2 separate regions of the Homo sapiens genome follow, and region 1 is linked to region 2. Evidence: promoter capture Hi-C in 16 types of primary human blood cells and fetal thymus (Javierre and others, 2016). All regions are on one chromosome and are shown on one strand. Each heading gives the region's core, a stretch centred on a gene start or on the middle of the fragment in contact. The rest is flanking DNA. Distances are from core to core; before and after follow the strand shown. Region 1 holds the start of MAP1S (microtubule associated protein 1S). Region 2 holds the start of PIK3R2 (phosphoinositide-3-kinase regulatory subunit 2).

The links. The method cuts DNA at HindIII sites, captures the fragments that hold promoters and counts their contacts. A CHiCAGO score of 5 or more calls a contact.
Region 1: the fragment with the promoter of MAP1S here is called in contact with the fragment with the promoter of PIK3R2 in region 2 in 2 of 17 cell types (fetal thymus and endothelial precursors); the score reaches 6.9 in fetal thymus.

Annotation. Positions count from the first base shown.
Region 1 is chr19:17,716,792-17,723,513 of GRCh38, forward strand. MAP1S (microtubule associated protein 1S) reads left to right here and starts at 2,689. Exons shown (of 7, transcript NM_018174.6): 1 at 2,689-2,829; 2 at 4,145-4,246. The coding sequence starts at 2,712. RefSeq lists enhancers at 719-1,220, 3,271-3,340, 3,731-3,880 and a silencer at 2,871-2,920. The HindIII fragment of the contact is 1,227 bases long and covers 2,457-3,683 here.
Region 2 is chr19:18,151,194-18,156,954 of GRCh38, forward strand. PIK3R2 (phosphoinositide-3-kinase regulatory subunit 2) reads left to right here and starts at 1,970. Exons shown (of 16, transcript NM_005027.4): 1 at 1,970-2,101; 2 at 4,264-5,008. The coding sequence starts at 4,687. It overlaps MAST3 (microtubule associated serine/threonine kinase 3), which reads left to right. Exons shown (of 28, transcript NM_001393504.1): 28 at 1-494. RefSeq lists enhancers at 721-800, 1,343-2,235, 1,541-1,820, 5,433-5,761 and silencers at 1,931-2,310, 2,621-2,840. The HindIII fragment of the contact is 8,629 bases long and covers 715-5,761 here.

The sequences.
Region 1 (6,722 bases), core at 1,439-3,938, 430 kb before region 2:
GCCGGTGCAGTGGCCCATACCTATAATCTCAGCACTTTGGGAGGCCAAGTGGGGCAGATTACTTGAAGTCAGGAGTTCGAGACCATCCTGGCCAACATGGTGAAACCCCATGTCTCTACTAAAAATACAAAAATTAGCCAGGCATGGTGGTGGGTACCGTAATCCCAGCTACTCAGGAGGCTGAGGCAGGAGAATCCCTTGAACCCGGGAGGCGGAGCTTGCAGTGAGCCGAGGTTACACCACTGTGCTCCAACCTAGCCTGCTTGACAGAACAAGACTCTCTCTCTCTCTCTCAGAATGATTCTGGCAAGGGCGACAGAGTGAGAATCCGTCTCAAAAAAAAAAAAAAGAAAGAAAAAAAAGAATTAGTACCAACAATCATAATTCACAGCGTGGGCAGAAGGAAGTGGATAGACTTCCATTCAGAAGCTCCTGGGTTCGAATCCTGGACCCATCCATAAATACACAAGGAAGGAAGGAAGGAAGGAATAGTGGACAAATAGGCCTTTCAGCCCATTCCAAAAGACTTTATCATATCCCTTCTCAGATGCCCAAGCCTTGTGTTGCACAAGGCCAGGGCCCCAGAGAGGCCTCAGGCTTCCAAAAGTTTCCAGCCTTATAGGGGAGATAGTGCCCGACACAGACACTCCCACTACTATTACTGCTCACAGCAATAACAGAAGAAATCACAGGCAGGCGAGACACAGGGAAGGGAGCCAAGGGGGAGGGACAAGGATAGAGGAAGGATGCCAGAACCAAAAAGAGAGAGAGGAAGTGGAGTGCAAGAATGGTAGACGGCACGTGGCCAGTGGCTGTTACACACTGGCCAGGGAGGAAGTTGGGCTGAACAACCTAGATAATAAACGGCAGCGGGAGGCTGATTCGCCTTCCCAGATCTTTCCCATTTCTGTTCTGCTTTTCTTTGCATACTCCCGGAGACAGGGAGCTCACTCCTGAGAAAGGAGGTTCAATGTTTCCTGGGCATGGACCACTGTCCAGAAGTTCCAAGCAAGATGATTTGTCAAGTAGTAGCCCCTATGGGTCAAAGGGCTAAAGGGGGCCAGGCGCGGCGGCTCACGCCTGTAATCCCAGCACTTTGGGAGGCCAAGGCAGGAGGATCACTTGAGGTCAGGAGTTCGAGACCAGCCTGGCCAACATGGTGAAACCCCATCTCTGCCGGGCACGGTGGCTCACGCCTGTAATCCCAGCACTTTGGGAGGCCGAGGCAGGCAGATCACGAGGTCAGGAGATCGAGACCACGGTGAAACCCCGTCTCTACTGAAAATACAAAAAATTAGCTGGGCACAGTGGCGGGCGCCTGTAGTCCCAGCTACTCGGGAGGCTGAGGCAGGAGAATGGCATGAACCTGGGAGGTGGAGCTTGCAGTGAGCCGAGATCGCGCCACTACCCTTCAGCCTGGGCGACAGAGCGAGACTCTGTCTCTAAAAGAAAAGAAAAGAAAAGAAAAGAAAAGAAAAGAAAAGAAAAGAAAAGAAAAGAAACCTCATCTCTACTAAAATACAAAAATTAGCAGGGCATGGTGGCGGACACCTATAATCCCGCTACTTGGGAGGCTGAGGCAAGGGAATCGCTTGAACCCGGGAGGCAGAGGTTGCAGTGAGCTGAGATTGTGCCATTGCACTCCAGCCTGGGCGGCAGAATGAGACTCCATCTCAAGAAAAGGAAAGGAGAGGAGAGGAGAGGGGAGAGGAGGGGAGGGGAGGGGAGGGAGAGGAAGGGAGGGGAGGGGAGGAGAGGAGAGGAGAGGGGAGAGAAGGGGAGGGGAGGGGAGAAGAGGAGAGGAGGGGAGGGGAGGAGAGGAGAAGAGAGGGGAGGAAAGGAAAGAAAAGCCTAAAGAGGATTATCTGGGGAGAGAGAGGTACCCATGTGCGCAACGCAGGCAGTCCCTTGCACAGGCTGGATCTAGAGTAAGACCCACTTGGGTTCAAACCTGCTCTACCACTTACAGGCCTGGTGACTTCATCCCTCCAAATCTCAGTTTCCTCTTCTTTCCTCTGAAAGTGACCACAGTAACTGTGCCTACTCATCTGTGCCTACATACAAGCACAAAACTCATCGCTTTGTGCTTGTATGTAATGAGCTAATGCAATAAAATACCTGGCGCACAGGAGGTGCAGAATAAGTGTTGCCCTGTTCCAGGCAGGCCCAGAGTGCTCCGGTTGTGTCCCAAACACACATGTACTTTCTTACCTCTAAAACTTTGCACCTGCTGTAAACTTCTGCCTCACCAGCTCTTGCCCCACCACCCACAAGGCAAACTCCTACACATCCCTTAAAGCCCTACCTACAAGATAGATTTCTTTTCTCTGTTCAAGCCCTGACCTAGAGAGCTGGGAGCATCCATAGGCACCGGGTTCTGATGCGGCCTACTGTCATGTGATGTGAGTTCCTGGAGGGCAGGAGTTCTGACCTACATGCAGCAGGCACGCAATCAAAGCTTGTTCAATGAAAAAAAAAATGAATGAATGGTCACTTGGGAGAGGCGGCTCCCAAGCGGACACCCAGGAGTCGGCCAACCCCTTTAACGCCCGCATCCCCTGCTCTCCACGACCTCAAAGGGCCTGTAAGTGGTCGACAAAAAGGGGCGGGGATGCGGTGGTTCCGGGCGGGGTCTTCAGCCCTTCCGGTGCGGCCCCTTTAAGAGGCGGGGCCTGCGGGGCGGGCGCCGAGAACGCCGGGGCGGCCCGAAGATGGCGGCGGTGGCTGGATCTGGGGCTGCCGCGGCTCCGAGCTCACTGCTCCTCGTGGTGGGCAGCGAGTTCGGGAGCCCGGGGCTCCTCACCTACGTCCTGGAGGAGCTCGAAAGAGGTCGGGCTGGCCTGGGGGCCCGCGGGAGCCCGGGAGGCGGGCCCGTTCGCGCGTCTGGGCCCGGGGCCGGCGGGGTGGGGCGGCGGCGGCGGCGGCGGCGGGACCCGGGCTCCGGGGCGGGGGTCGCGGGCCTGGGGCTGGGTCCCCTTCACCGTTAGGCGCACGACGCGGGCAAAGGCGGGGTGCCCGTGGGTGCCCGCGGAGAAAGTGGCATCCGGGCCTGGGCTGGGCAGGGCTGCCCCGCCCCAACTCCGGGTGAAGATAGGGGAGGGGACACGGGCCTGGGCTTGGGGACCCTTGCAGTTGGACCACGGCTCCGCTTCCCGCCTGACTGGCCTGCCCGGGGGTAGGGCCTGGGGTCGCTTTGGATCTCCAGGTCTTAGCAGCTTAGATAGAGATCTCCCGGAGGGAGAAGCAGATATGGGGGAGGCTGGGCCTGGAGCCCCGGGGCCCGCTTTCTGTTGCCTCACAAGGAGCTGCTAATTGGGGTGTGGGCGGGTGCGGCCTGCCCTGGGGATTTGGCACCTAGGGAGGTGAGTCATAGGCGCACCTGCCAGGTTCACCTGCAGCCACTTGGCTCAGTGGGACTGGCGGGCGTGATGCGCCCGTGGGTGGAGATGGGTGTTCATCCCCCATCCCTCGGAGCATCTGGACCTGGCGTTTCATTGCATGTAAAATGGGACAGGAACACGCACCTCGGTTCATGTGCTTGAGGAGTGTTTAGTGAGCACCTGCTATGCGCCAGGCCTTTGGGCAGTGGACACAGGGATATGGCCGGGATGATAGACAGGTTCAGCCCTGCCAACACAGGTCTGGTTTGGGGATGGACCCAAAGCGAGTGAGGAGATGGAACAAGCTTCCAGCTCACATGGTGTCAGGAAGGATGAGAAGGCTGCAAGGGACTGAGAGGACAGTCAGTCTTAGCACCCGAAGGTGCTGAGGGGGAAGGGCCCCCTGGCCAGTAGGAACAGGTGGGGGCGGCAGGGGGATGGACTTCCAGGCAGGGGAAACAGCTGTTGCAAGGGCGGTGAGTGGAAACGGGTCTGGCAGGGCATAGGAGCAGCGAGGAGGTGGAGATGGAGGAGGTGGAGGCTTTGTTGCTGATGAATCTTGTGTGTAAAATGATGAGGTGTGCTCTGGGTCCCCTGGCTCAGCTGCAGCGAGACCTGAAGGTGTTGGGTACTTCTGAGTCTCCAAGCTGTGAGTGAAGGGAGGAGGCTGGGGCGCTCCCCACCCACGGGGTGCTAATTATTGAAATATTCTGGGAGCTGGGGGGCCCGGCTGAACTCCCGCCTTGATCCCTCCTTCCCACCAGGCATCCGGTCTTGGGATGTCGATCCTGGCGTCTGCAACCTTGATGAACAGCTCAAGGTCTTTGTGTCCCGACACTCTGCCACCTTCTCCAGCATTGTGAAAGGTGAGGCTGGGGTCCCCCTGACTGCTCCCTACCTCTTGTTATTTGGGGAAGTGCCAGCCGTGTGCCAGGCATGGGGGGTGGGATGCAGCTATAAATAACAACAGTAATAATACAGTTGAGACCTTTCAAATGCAAGCCGTGACCCAGTGATAACCCCCTCAGTCCTCAGCAACCCACAGTGCAGGAACTGGTGTTTTTGTCCCTGATTGACAGATGAGGAAATTGGCATTGAAGGGGGAAGAGGCAGGGAGATCTCTGAGGAGGGGGTTTTTTGATGAGAAACTGCTATGACTGGTGTGTCCAGTGGAAGGGAAGGGCCCCAGTCAAGACCCAGCAGTGGACAGAACATCTAGAATGAACCGGGCGCGGTGGCTTACGCCTCTGATCTCAGCACTTTGGGAGGCCGCAGCGGGCGGATCACTTGAGGTCAGGAGTTGGAGACTAGCCTGGCCAACGTGGAGGAACCCTGTCTCTACTAAGAATACAAAAATAACGGCATGGTGGCAGGCGCCTCTAATCCCAGCTACTCGGGAGGCTGAGGTGGGAGGATCACATGAACCCAGGAGGCAGAGGTTACAGTGGGGCTGAGACTGCGCCACTGCACTCCTGCCTGAGTGACAGAGTGGGAGGGACTCTGTCTCAGAACAAACAAACAAACAAAAAACATCTGGAAGGTGGAGGGGCACTGAGCAGGCCCTGGAAGATGGAGTGTGGGCCCCTTGCAGGAAGGGACTGATACTGGTTCACAGCCACAGGCCTGGGTATACAGTAGGCAGGGAACTGAAAAGGAGTGAGATCAAGAAGGGCCCAACTCAGCACGAGGCTCCCTTCTAGGGTGACCCAGGGTGAGCAGAGCAGCAGGCGGGCAGGCAGGGCTTGGGTGTTGCCTGCAGCCGCCCCCGGCTCCTGATGGTCTCTTGAGTCACCTCCCGGCTGCTGCTGGAGAGGAAGGAAGTGTCTGTAGTCTCATTGTCCCAGTTGGTCCTTGTGGCTTCCTGACACTTCATGGGGCAGAAAGTGGAGCTGGAAATCCTGTCTGCTGTGTGTGAACTTCGTGGCCACTTCCCTTCTTTATGCCTTGATTTCCCCACCTGAATGGGGCAATATCCCTGTGTGGCAAAAAGCGTGCTAAGGCTGGGTGGGGTGGCTCTCGCCTGTAATCCCAACACTTTGGGAGGTCAAAGTGGGAGGATTTTTTGAGGTCAGGAGTTCAAAACCAGCTGGGGCAACATGGTGAAACCCTGTCCCTACTGAAAATGCAAAAATGAGCTGGACCTGGTGGTGCACACCTGTAGTCCCAGCTACTCAGGAGCCCGAGGAGGGAGGATCGCTTTTACCCAGGAGGCAGAGGCTGCAGTGAGCTAAGATTGTGCCACTGCACTTCAGCCTGGGCAACAGAGCGAGACCCTGTCTCAAAAAAATAAACTTAGGCCTGACATGGTGGCTCACACCTATAATCCCAGCACTTTGGAAGGCTGAGGTGGGTGGATCACCTGAGGTCAGGAGTTCGAGACCAGCCTGACCAGTATGGTGACACCCCATCTCTACTAAAAATACAAAAATTAGCTGGTTGTGGTGGCAAGCGCCTATAACCCCAGCTACTTGGGAGACTGAGGTTGGAGAATTGCTTGAACTCAGGAGGCAGAGGTTGCAGTGAGCTGAGATCGTGCCACTACACTTCAGCCTGGGCAATAGAGGGAGATTCCATCTCAAAAAAGAGAGAGAGAGAGAGGGAGGGAGGGAGGGAGGGGGAGAGGGAGGGAGAGAGAGAGAGAAAGGAAAGAGAAAGCTAAATGTGATAAGGGCGAGAGAGAGAGAAAGGGAAAAGAAGGAAAGAAAGGAAAGAAAGTTAAATGTGATAAGGGCTGGCAACACTGGAGGGTCTCTGCCTCTCAAGACTCAGCCTTGTTCACAGTTCAGTCCTGCCTCAGGGGCCTTGGCTGGTGCTGTACCCTGGTCCGGGTTGGCCCTCACCGGCCCCCACCCCGGCTCTGGCTCCTTGCCACCCCCCTCTCACAGTACTGATGTTTAAAACACATACGGGCCCTGGGGGACAGAGCAGGGTCAGGATCCCAGAAACAGCCCTACTTCAGCCCCGGCCCTTATGCTGCCCCACCCCTAGCTGAGTCCTGCCTCAGGACCTTTGCTCCGGATGTACCCTCGTCCACGTTCGCCCTCATTGGCCCTCCTCGAGCTCTGGCTCTCTGTCTGAAAAATAAATGTGGCCGGATGGGTGCAGTGGGTCAAGTCTGTAATCCCAGCACTTTGGGAGGCCGAGGCAGGCGGATCACCTGAGGTCAGGAGTTTGAGACCAGCCTGACCCACATGTTAAAACCCCGTCTCTACTAAAAATTGAAAAAATTAATGGGGCGTGGTGGCGTGTGCCTGTAATCCCAGCTACTCGGGAGGCTGAGGCAGGAGAATTGCTTGAACCCAGGAGGCGGAGGTTGCAGTGAGCCCAGGTTGCACTGTTGCA
Region 2 (5,761 bases), core at 720-3,219:
TTTCCTTGTGTTTACAAGACTAATCCCATTGACTGTTTATTAAGCACCTACTGTGTGCCAAGCGCTTTTACGTGGCTTCTCCCTCAGCCAGCCTTGAGAAGGCTGGAGGTGGTGTCATCACCTCCATTTTACAGACAAAGCAGCTGAGACCCCAGCGAGGGGCGGAGACCTGTCCCACGATCACCCAGCAGGAGTCGTGGCAGAACGGAGCATCAGCCAGACCCTGTTGTGGGCGTTGTCATCAAGGGAGCTTGAATGGAGGGTCTGGTGTCAGATACAGCCGACTCCAGCCCCAGCTCATCCCCCATGATGCTGTGTGACCCACTGGGCACTCTGGTGAGGGAGCTTTCCAGACATCAACAGCCCACTCTGCTTCCCTTTCTGAGTCCCCTGTCCAGCACTGCCTAGTGTTGGAGGGTAGACCAAGGCTGTGCATGATTCACCCCCTCCTTCCATCCTGGAGCTGGCAGTGAATAAAAGCCCGTATTTACAAAGATGAGCTCCAACGTCTGGATTTGTGAGGGGCTGAGAAAGGAGGAAGGGAAGAGTGGGGAGGGGAGCGGAGTGAAATAGACCCATGGCTCAAAGTCATTGCAAGTGGGTTTTGAGGACTGCATAGCAGTTCGCTGTTGAGATTCTTCCTGATGCCATCGCTGGTACCAGCCTCCTGCTACCCTCTCCCTGCGAGTACTCCATCATAGCCCTGCCTTTAAAAGCTTCCTCCAGACATCTGGGCCCTGAGCTATGTTTTTTATTTTTATGTTTTTGAGACAAGGTCTCGCTCTGTAACCCAGGTTGGAGTACAGTGGCGCAATCACGGCACATTGCAGCCTCGACCTCCTGGGCGCCCTGGGCTATGTTAATAAAATAAATAAGCGGCGGGGCGCGGTGGCTCACGCCTGTAATCCCAGCACTTTGGAAGGCCAAGGCGGGCGGATCTCCTGAGGTCGGGAGTTCCAAACCACCCTGACCAACATGGAGAAACCCCGTCTCTACTAAAAATACAAAATTAGCCGGGCGTGGTGGCGCATGCCTGTAATCCCAGCTGCTCGGGAGGCTGAGGCAGGAGAATCGCTTGAACTCGGGAGGTGGAGGTTGCGGCGAGCCGAGATAGCGCCATTGCACTCCAGCCTGGGCAACAAGAGCGAAACTCCGTCTCAAAAAATAATAACAAAATAAGCAATCGTCGCGTCCTTTCTATCCTGGTCTTAGCTTGCGCTCTGCCATAAAACTCCCTCTAGCCGAACCCGGCCCAGCCCTAGAGCAATCCGTTACTTCCGGGGCGCTCAGCCGGCATGCAAACACTCTTGGCTACAGCCCCATCTCCGAGTGCGTTCGGCTATTTCCGGAAACCGTCGGCATCTAGGCTCAAGTCCGCTAAATTCTAGTGCCCGTAGGGGTCGAGATCGTTGGCTGTTTCCGGACGCTCTGGGTTGCCATGGAAACTCCTTCAACCCTGGCTTTCTCCGACTTCTGCTTTTTGCGGCAGGCCCTTTCCCCACTCTACTGCCCCCTGTTTGCTGAGCTTGAGAACGCCTCATTTGTCCCCTGGAACCATCTATGCTTCAGTAATTCCCATAAGCTGGCGGTCGCCTCTGGGTCTAAACTCCCAAGGCCTCCATTGGGCACTGAGCACATTCGGTTATTTCCAGAAACGCTCCGCGGTCTTGGGGATCAGCCTCAGTTGTGCCAGTGCGGCCGTAGAGAGTGTTCGGCCATTTCCGAAAGCGCTCGGGCGTCTCTAAGCCCAGCCGAGCCCAGTCTCGGATCCCTCGCCGACCCGATTGCACTCGGCTACCTCTGGAAACGCTCGGCTGTCTCGGGGGCACCCTCTAGTCCACCAGTCCCGCGGGATTACGTTCGGCTACTTCCGGAAACACTCGGGTGCCCCCTTACCTCAGGCTCCGCCTCGGCCTCGGTTCATCCGCCCGGCTCGAATGCGCTCGGGCATTTCCGCCGGGGGCGGGCCAGGCCGCTCGGAACCGTGGCGGCGGCGGAGGCGGGGATCCCGCGGCTGCGGCGACGGTGGCCGCGGTGGAGCCACGGGGCGGGCTTGGCTTGGTGTGACGGCGGCTGCGGCGGCGGTGGCGGCCGCGACCAGGTGAGTCCTGACTGGCCCTCGTGGCGGGGGCGGCTGGGAGTGTGCTTAAATGCGGGGCGCCCGGGGGCAGTGCCGGGCCCCGGTGGAAGCCAGAACGCAAGCGCCAGGCTGCGTCGGGCCCCGCGGGAACTGGGGGGGCCGCAGGCAAGGGGGGGCCTCGGGCTCGGCTCCGCAGCGGTGCAGCCTCCTTGGGACGGTCGGGGCAGAATGGGGAGAGACTCCCCGCGTCCAAGATACCGGACTGGAGCCGAGGCCCCAAATGAAGGGAGGCCCTGCCTGGAATGGGGCTTCGAATAGTACCGAGGGGCGCCCAGGCATTGTGCGGGGCAGAATGGGGTGCGGGAGGGCCGGGGGTCGAACCCACTTCCGGTCCCCTAGCCGGGTGGCCGGGTCCACGCAGACCCAAGTGCGCGTCTGTGTGAGCGCTCAGGCCCTGCCTTCACCCGCGGAGCCCCCAGCCCTGCCTGCCCCGCCCCTCCCGCCTCCCGGATTCGGGGAGCGCTGCTCCCGGGGCGCGCACACCGGGGCGTGGGGGCGGGCTGGCAGGCAGATCCAGGCGGTTTTCTGGGCATCCCCTCTCGGGGCCTCAGTTTCCCCACCTGTAGAATGAGGGTAACAGAGGCCTAGGAATGGGTAAATTGGGCACCCGAGAATGTGGCGCCCCTCCGCCCTGCTCGGACACCTCTTGGGGTTCCCCGTGACTGAAGGATGCTCAGAGCCTCCACCTGACACTCGGGCCTCTTGGTGGATAGCACCTATCCTTATAGCCACCCTGAATCCTTGACAAGCAACTTAACCCACTGCCAAGGCTTTGCATGTGCCGTTCCGTCTGCCTGTCGCGCCTTCCTATCCGCTGTGATGATCCATTCTCTAGAACAGCACGTCCATCCCCCGACCCTAGCCCTGTCCATCACAGGGCGTCTGAACCCGCAGGGCTAGGCTGGGAATGTGTGCCTATCTCCGCCTCCCCAGGCTGGGACTCCTGGGGAATAATCAATGCCCTGCTGCCGGCAGCCTCCCCTCCTCCTCAGCTGCAGTACCCCCACCTTCTCCTGGCTCCCTGTCCCTGCCTGGGGCTAAGGTTCCTTCTAAGCACCTCCCCATCTGCATTTTGTGCCTACTCTGGGCCCCAGGCTGGAGCTACCTGCCAGCCCACTCACTCCTCCTCTGCAGAGACTGGAGGTCCATTTGCTTGGACTCACCTCGAGGCCTTTGCTTGTGTAGAGGCCTCTTCCTGGACTTTGTTCCCTACCTCTTAGTTCAGCTGGCCTGACCCCTCTATGGAGCTCCCAAAGCACCCGGAGTGGCCTCCATTGCGTCCTCCCTGCCCTAGGTATCTGGCCACCTGGCTGCTGCCCCCTCATGTCCAACTGGGCCAAGTCGGCAGATCTAGGTGTAAGTCCTGGCTTCCTCCTGGCCTACTGCACGGCCCTAGATACCTCCCTGCTCTGAGCCTCAGTTTCCCCATCTGTAACAGGGGTGATGAAAAGCCTGTTTACTGGCCGGGCGCGGTGGCTCACACCTGTAATCCCAACACTTTGGAAGGCAGAGGCAGGAGGACTGCTTCAGCCCAGGAGTTTGCGACCAACCTGGGCAACATAGCAAGACCCCACCTCTATTGGAAAAAAAAAAAAAAAGGCTGGGCAAGGTGGCTCATGCCTGTAATCCCAGCACTTTGGGAGGCCAAGGCGAGCAGATCACTTGAGGTCAGGAGTTCAAGACCAGCCTGGCCAACATGGTGAAACCTCGTCTCTACTAAAAATACAAAAATTAGCTGGGTGTGGTGGCCTGCTACTCGGGAGGCTGAGGCAGGAGAATTGCTTGAACCTGGGAGACAGGTTGCAGTGAGCTGAGATCACACCACTGCACTCCAGCCTGGGTGACAGAGCAAGACTCTATCTCAAAAAAAAAAAAAAAAAAAACTGATTTACTGAGCATGTAGTATACCTGGGGCAGGTTCTTGGGAACTCTACTCCCAGCAGCTCCAAGGGAAGGCTGTCAGTATACCCATTTTACAGATAGAGAAGCTGAGGCCCTGAGAGGGACCGGCCCCAAGGTCACCCAGTGATTCAGGGAATTCCAAATCAGGATTTGGGCCCATCTCCGTGTTGGGGGTGAGAGGAGTTGGCCTGGCTAACGCTGCCCTATCCCTGTCTCCCTAGGTCGGCGTCCTCAGCTGGCCGAGCATGGTGGCAGCCTGCACCCTTGGCTCCCTTGTCTGGTGCAGCCAGCAGAGCCGCCAGCCTTGGGCGCCCATGGCCCTCCGTGTGAGGGCGTGAGCGGCCTGCCCCAGCCTCACCTGCTGATGGAGGACTCAATGGCCCAGTGACCTGACACCACACCACCAACTCCCTCCCACCAGCTGACGAATGGTGGACCCAGTGACGAGTGGCCCTTGTAAGGGTCATGGAATAATTTGAAGCGAGGCATGAGCGGCCCCTGTGGTCGCCTGTGACTGCTGGAGATAGAGGTCCCAGCACCCCAAGCCAACCCAGCGGACCCTCCCAGCCCTGCTTCAACCAATGGGGCCAGTGGGGCTCCAAGCAGCCACCTAACCATCCAGACCCCACCCCACTCACGCGGCCATGGCGGGCCCTGAGGGCTTCCAGTACCGCGCTCTGTACCCGTTCCGCCGGGAGCGGCCGGAGGACCTGGAGCTGCTGCCCGGCGACGTGCTGGTAGTGAGCCGGGCGGCCTTGCAGGCGCTGGGCGTGGCCGAGGGTGGCGAGCGCTGCCCACAGAGCGTGGGCTGGATGCCCGGCCTCAACGAGCGCACACGGCAGCGAGGTGACTTCCCTGGCACCTATGTGGAGTTCCTGGGGCCCGTGGCCCTGGCCCGGCCCGGCCCTCGCCCACGGGGCCCCCGCCCACTGCCCGCCAGGCCCCGTGATGGGGCCCCTGAGCCAGGTGAGCAGCAAGCAGGGGCCCTGGAAAGGGGGGTGGTCCCCTCAGACCCTTGGTCTCCTCTTCTGTCCAGTGAGGCAATGGGATCTCCAAGGAAGGAGGAAAAAGGACATTTGGTCATTTGACAAGTGTCTTCAGTGCTAGGCTCAGCAGTGGACACAAGGCCTGTTCCTGCCCTCATGAGCTTCTGGTTCAAGAAGGGATGAGAGTGGGTTCAGGAGGTGACACATGCCATGAGGAAGGGGGCTTGCGTGGGAAGATGCGAGGGTGGAAGCTCAAGGCAGTGGGGGCAGCGAGGGCAGAGGCTGTGGAGTAGAACTCTAATGGCGGGAACGGCCAGCAGGAGGACCAGAGGGAGGAAGGGGAGGGCAATGTGCGCTGGCATGGAGGACTTAGTGGGATTGATTTTGAGGACAATGGAGAGTGTTCAGTAGGATTCAGAGGCTCAGCCTAGCTTCATCCTGCCTTTTGCAGACAGGGTCCCTTGAAGAACCCCTTTGGAGACCCTGATTTCCAAAATGAAGCCACAAGGAGGGTAGGATGTGGGCTGCTCAGCTGAGGCCACACAGCACAGTGGGATATGAGGACCCCACATCCCTCTTCAAAGACCCTTGGCCATCACCACTTGCCAGGGGTGTGCCAGGTGTAGAGAATCGGGGGCACCGAGCCCACTCAGTGACTGCTGTTTGATGGGCAGGGAGTGTGGGCTCTGGCCGGGGAAACTGTGGCCCAGGTTGCAAGGAGGAGGCTAAGAGG